Regions from separate parts of the Homo sapiens genome. Here region 2 is linked to region 1. The links are contacts of gene promoters, found by promoter capture Hi-C in human tissues and cell types (Jung and others, 2019). All regions are on one chromosome and are shown on one strand. The core of a region is centred on a gene start or on the middle of the fragment in contact, and the rest is flanking DNA. Distances in the headings are between cores, read along the strand shown. Region 1 holds the start of POPDC2 (popeye domain cAMP effector 2). Region 2 overlaps ARHGAP31 (Rho GTPase activating protein 31).

Region 1 (3,184 bases), core at 212-2,711:
CTCAGCCTCCCCAGTAGCTGAGACTACAGGTGCCCGCCACCACGCCCAGCTAATTTTTATACTTTTAGTAGAGACAGGGTTTCCACCATGTTGGCCAGGCTGGTCTCGAACTCCAGCCTCACTCAGGTGATCCACCCGCCTCAGCCTCCCAAAGTGCTGCGATTATAGGCGTAAGCCACTGTGCCCAACTAACATTTCTTAGCCTAATGTTTGCATACTCCAGCTTTATCTCTTGGCAGCCCAAAGTAGATTCCTAGGTTCAACCAGAAGTTCCTTGAAAATTGTCAGACTTCATAGAAGTGTGGAGTTGGGAGTCATGGATCTAGTACTGTACTTCCACTTACTGGCAAACCCCTTGGGACAGAGTATTAAGTTTGACAGACTTGGGTTCAAATCCTGGCTCTGCCACTTAGACCATCTGTGGGAGCTTGTTACCTCTCTGAGCCTCAGTTTCTTCCAGATCTAGAAGGAGAATAATATTTATTTTGAAGGATTGTTGTCACAACTAACTTATAAGTGTATAAAATGCCTAATCTAGGTTTGGCACTTCATGGGTGTTTAATAGGTGGGAATTATAATTTGGAAGCACCGGAGTGGGTGGGATGATGATCTGGGCAATGTATTATTATTTGTTTACTATTACCAGATCCAGATATATGCAGGGGAAAGCCAGCTTAGAATTCAAAAAGCCACTTTACATAGCTACTTTTGTTAAATGGATGTCAAATAAATACATAATGATATTTGCAGTGTGACTTAATAAAGGCCTTCAGGGGGTTTTCCAGCTTTCACTGTTAGGATTTTTTCTGATAATAGTCCCATACTTTCCTACTCTGATGTGTCCTCACTCAGAAGCACTGTCTGGCTCTCCCCAAAGGGAGCTCGGGACAGTTTCCTGCCTGAGGTGTTCAGGTGAATTCTGTGCTCACTTTTCCTTTCTCTCTCCTTGTCTGTCTCTCTGACCCTGAGGTCTTATCTTGTCCTCTGGGAGGTATGTTAAGTGCTCTGCCAGGCTGCCTGTGCCTGGCCTGTTTTTTCTCACTGCCAGTACCTCTTGGATTCCAATTCCAAACATGGTATCCATCTGGGGTCACCCTTTCTTCCGGTGCCAAGAGAGAACACATTCCAAATGGAACACAAATGTGCCTCCCATGCTGGCTCTCCTCATTCTGCTTGGGAAAAACAGAGAGCAGGATGTGGCCGCATCATCCCACGCTGCTGGACTTTTCAGTCCTGTAGTGCTACTTTCCCTTGGGACTATTTAGGTTTTTCTGCTAAGAACCAAATTTGAAGACTCCCAAGAAACATGGAACCAAGGAAGCTTGCCAGAGCTCTGCAGGGAGAGCCAGAGCCTTGCTGAGACAGCGGGGGTGGTGGGGAGGAGAGAGGGGGGGAGAGGGGGAGAGAGAGAGAGAGAGAGAAAGAGGTTTTTAAATTCTCCATGAAGTGTACTATGTTCCATCATTCCTTCCCAAAGCCACCGGAAGCATTCCTTCTAGGAAAGGTGGAGTCGGTAGTGAGAAGCCGGAGGTGAGAAGACCCCTGAGCGGATGGATTCATTCATTTTCTGAATTTCCTATGTGAGGACAGTATTAGAGCCCAGTGAGGCTTTGAGAGGCCCCAAAGATGAGCGCCAACAGCAGCAGAGTGGGCCAGCTTCTCTTGCAGGGTTCAGCGTGCATTAGGTGGAAGCAGGATGTGGAAGGGGCTGTCTACCACCTAGCCAACTGCCTCTTACTCCTGGGCTTCATGGGGGGCAGTGGGGTGTATGGATGCTTCTATCTTTTTGGCTTCCTGAGTGCAGGTTACCTGTGCTGCGTGCTGTGGGGCTGGTTCAGTGCCTGTGGCCTGGACATTGTTCTTTGGAGCTTCCTGCTGGCTGTGGTCTGCCTGCTCCAGCTGGCACACCTGGTATACCGCCTGCGTGAGGACACCCTCCCTGAGGAGTTTGACCTCCTCTACAAGACGCTGTGCCTGCCCTTGCAGGTGCCCCTACAGACATACAAGGAGATTGTTCACTGCTGCGAGGAGCAGGTCTTAACTCTGGCCACTGAACAGACCTATGCTGTGGAGGGTGAGACACCCATCAACCGCCTGTCCCTGCTGCTCTCTGGCCGGTAAGCTACTCTATCCATTGCCCAGAATTTCTTTCCCCAGCCCACACTTCTCATTTCCTAGTGTGTCCCTTTCCATTTCATGTCCCTTTCCATTTCGTGTCCCCTTCCATTGAGGGAAGGATGTGACAAGTCAAACAAACCAAAATAGATTTTTCTAAGAGTGGGGTTGCTTCCTCTTTCTTGGCATTTTCCAAGAAGAAACCAGTTCATGAGGCATCTTGGTTGGCAAGAATGATTGTATGTGCACTTGCTGCTGGAAGGTGTGCAGTGCGTGTGTCTTGAGCCTGGGCCTTAAATAACCCCTCTACCATCACCACACACATATCAGTGTGTCATGCCTAAGCTGCAGCAATATCTCTGTAAGCTTTGAAAAACTAACATTTCAATAAGGTTAATCTGTTCCTTACTCAAATTCAACATTTGCTAAGCACCAACTGTATTCAGGGAACAATGCCAGAAATGGGAGGTCGGGATAGCGGGGTGGTTCTCATAACCCCTGTTCCCTGCCAAGGCATCAAGCAAACAGCCCCACTTGTGTTTGGGGTAGCTGTATGTAGCCAGGTAGGGAGAGTGAATACCCCTTGCCCACCTTTCCATTTCCAGTTGTTCTATTGAGGTTCTTGAAGACTAAGAAGTCAAGTACAGTACTGTAAATCTGAGGGCCCAACAATGGGAGAAGAGAAGTGATACACCTATCTCATCAAGGCTTTTGTGGAAGCACCGCCTCTTTTGGAGAAGGCTGACAGTCAGATATGGGCAGAAATGGTCTTAGTCAGGATCAGTGTATGCCCAGTCAACCTGGATGTGAATGTTGGGCATTGATTTCTTCTGAGAAAACATCACGGGGCTCTGTGCTACACACTTAGTAGGCAATTGTGGATTTTTTTATACTGCCCTAGTGGCTCTTGAGCCCCACAACCCCCACTCCACCAGCTTTCTTGAGACCAGGAGAATGTGATAGAAAAGGTAAGATGGCAATTAGAAGGCTCCAATTCCAAGAAAAAAAAAAAAAAAAAGCAAATCCAGATAATACTGCCAACCACACAATGGAGAAAAAAGTTTGACAA
Region 2 (3,184 bases), core at 365-2,864, 350 kb after region 1:
AAAGACAACGCTGCGTGCGTGACTCCAGTCCTGAAGAGTGTGGATGGATCCCTTGATCTATATACTCTGCTGCTGTTCCTACAGCCTAAGATTGAGCTTTTTTTTTTTTTTTTTTTTGCTGTTAATTCATACTTGGATTCACTCTCAAGCCAGATTTACCTCATTCCGTCAACTTCCAAAATGCAGTTTTGGGGCAAATAAATAGGCATATGTGAGATGTCTTATGGCCCAGCAAAAATCCAGGACTTACATTGTTCCATCAATGATGGAAACAGACTTGATTGCCAGATTTATAACTCTCCTGAAATACAGATGGAAACTAGCAGGCTAGATGGCTGTCACTGTGATTATAGCCTTTTTATCATAAACTTTATAAGGGAGGAAGAATTATTTTTAGATTATTTTCTTTTTCTAATTGCTAAAGAAATATAAAACTTAGAAAGTTTGCCACATTCCCACCCCAGATATATTTATCAACAGATTAGAATCTTAAAACTAGCATTTTTATACATCCACCCAAGGGAAATAAATAATTGTGTACATACAAGAGAATTTCTTAGAGAAAGAAACCCCTAGGGATAGATGGGGGCCTTGGAATATTTGTTCTCAGCTTTCTCAACTTCCACATCTATAGCATAACCGAGGAACCATACTTTTAGTAATAAGGCTGAAACACGGTAAGATTTCCAATCCTCAAGGAAATGATAACCATAGTTAATAGGTATGGAAGGTTTACTAAATTCCAAACAGTGCACTAGTTGCTTTAATGCTCATAATGGCTCTATGTGGTAGGTACCATTATCATCATAATCTCCACTTTACAGATGAAGAAACTGAGGCATAGAGAGGTTTGGTAGCTTGTCCATGGTCACAAACCTAGCATGTGGTAGAGTTGGAATTTGAATCATGGTAGTCTATCAGCAAACAAACCATATGCTCAACCACCCTGCTACACACTGCGGATAGGTTAATTGGTTTCACTATACTGGATCTATTAAGGCATGAAAAAAAAAACTAACAGACTTAGTTTTTTTTTTCTAAAAATAAAGATTGAAACAAAGGGCATTTATGAAAAAGCCAATGACTCAAGACACACTATTCCTAAAATAATTTTAGAAATGTTTCTTTCTGATTTAAAAGATAAAAATGTATCTTCAGTGTTGAAATGTTGGGCAATATAAAAGTATAATGAAGAAAATAAAAATCGTGTCGTTTCACATAGCTGCTTCTTTCTGTGTGCTAAGTCAGTGTTTCTCAAAGTGAGATCAGTAGGCCAAGGATATTAGATCACCTGGAGCTCATCTTTAAAATGTGGATTTCCCACCCCAGACCAACAAAAGTAAAATCCCTGAGGAACTGGACCTCAGAATCCTGACTTGCAGCAGCACTTTACAGCTTGCTGCCCTATAAACTATGGAACCCATTCGGTAGAATCATATGTTCTCCATCGACCCAGACATTACACAACCTATGCAAATACCCGTTTGAAAACTTTTTTTTTGAGACAAAGTCTCACACCGTCCCCCAGGCTAGAGTGCAGTGGTGCGATCTCGGCTTACTGCAACTTCCACCTCCCAGGTTCAAGCAATTCTCGTGCCTCAGCCTCCCATGTAGCTGGGATTACAGGCACGCGCCACCATGCCCAGCTAATTTTTGTAATTTTTTTAGTAGAGATGGGGTTTCACCATGTTGGCCAGGCTGGTCTTGAATTCCTGACCTCAAGTGATCCACCCACCTAACCTCCCAAAGTGCTATGATTACAGGCCTGAGCCACCACACCCGGCCCCATTTGAAAACTTTTACTAGATGTCCATTTTGTCTCAAGGAGTCCAAAACTGGATTTGAAGAGTATCTCTAGTAGTATACTAAAATTGACTAATATTTAATTTTAAAATTAAAATTTAAAAGCAAGAATTACATTTTTAGTCTTTCTTATGCCCAGTAAAGTTTGAGAAATGCTGCCCAAGGATTAACAAGAGAGGTCCAGAATTCTCGGACTCTGAATTTAAAACTCATACTGTACCCAGAGAACTAGCCCTCCTTTCCATCTGAAACCAAATTGTCTTTAGAGTTACTAAAGAAAGGAAAACTGAGGAAACCATGCCCCATTTGGAAGTCAGGCTTAGGAGGGGGGAAAACAGGACGTTTACAGATTACCTGAAGGGGATATTCTCCTGGCCTTTAGCTATAGGCTCTGTGTCCAGGGCAGCTACAGCTTTAATGCAGCCTCAGAGGGCCCCCAACCCAAGCAGCGTTTCTGTCCTCAGCTCTGAGCTTGATTCAGAGACCTGCATTTGGCTTTGCTTTTCCAGAAAGCAACATGGCTCTTCTCCATTAGCACCAAGCTCATATTCTAGCTATTAGCCAAACAAAGGATCTTCCAAATATAGGCCCCAAAAAGCATGTGCACTTTGAAGGCCACAATAAAGCTTAAATAGCTAAAACTTGTTAAAAAGAAAGCCAACAATTGTCGCCAAAAGTATGAGTCCTTAGCAGAACAGCAAGACAAAAGCCAGAAAGAGGAACAAAAATATGCATTGTAGGGGAGGGGCTGGCAGGGAGGTGTAGATTTATATGGAAGAGTTGACATCATTGTTTCCCAATAATACCCAGCATGCAGGAAACAGATGGGAAAGAAGTGGTGGAAGGGGCTACTTATGGTAACAGGGCATGCTCTCTGTTTAGAATCCTGCCATTTGGAACCTAAGTGTTTTACTTTGAAAAACTGGGGATGGGAACTCAATTGCCAGAAGTTTTATTAAGTCTAACTAAATCCTACTGAACTTATCACCTTGGCAATGCATGGCAAAATGGAGCTCTGCATATCAGACCTGTTTTACTGCTAGCATAGCTGTGTCTCGTTGGGTCAAGAGCAGACAAAGCCATGGAAGGAGAATTTAATGTTGCACAGACACAGCTGGAGTCTTGCTTCTGCCGCTTCCTGGCTGGGTGACAGGAGGCAAGTTACTTAACCTCTCTGAGTTGGTCCTTCTTCATAAGATGGGGACAAAACAGAACTTTCCATATAGTGGAAGACTCTGCAGTTGGACATTTATGCCATACAGATAGATTTAATCAAGAAACAGAGGGTCAGTTAGCACCATTTTTTAAAAGTTTTATTTTATTTTATTTTATTTTATTTTATTTTATTTTATTTTATTTTGAGACAGAGTCTCACTCTGTC

What was found. The method cuts DNA at HindIII sites, captures the fragments that hold promoters and counts their contacts. A contact is called where the count stands out against the background at its distance.
Region 2: a contact is called between a fragment that was not itself captured here and the fragment with the promoter of POPDC2 in region 1, in 1 of the 25 tissues and cell types used here (bladder).

What each region holds. Positions count from the first base shown.
Region 1 is chr3:119,658,866-119,662,049 of GRCh38, reverse strand. It overlaps POPDC2 (popeye domain cAMP effector 2), which reads left to right and starts at 1,461. Exons shown (of 4, transcript NM_001369919.2): 1 at 1,461-2,117. The coding sequence starts at 1,627. The HindIII fragment of the contact is 12,678 bases long and covers 1-1,901 here.
Region 2 is chr3:119,304,874-119,308,057 of GRCh38, reverse strand. The region is part of intron 1 of ARHGAP31 (Rho GTPase activating protein 31); the gene reads right to left. Among named protein-coding and RNA genes, the nearest start is that of ARHGAP31, 12 kb to the right of the region's middle. RefSeq lists a silencer at 2,442-2,736. The HindIII fragment of the contact is 3,759 bases long and covers 1-3,184 here.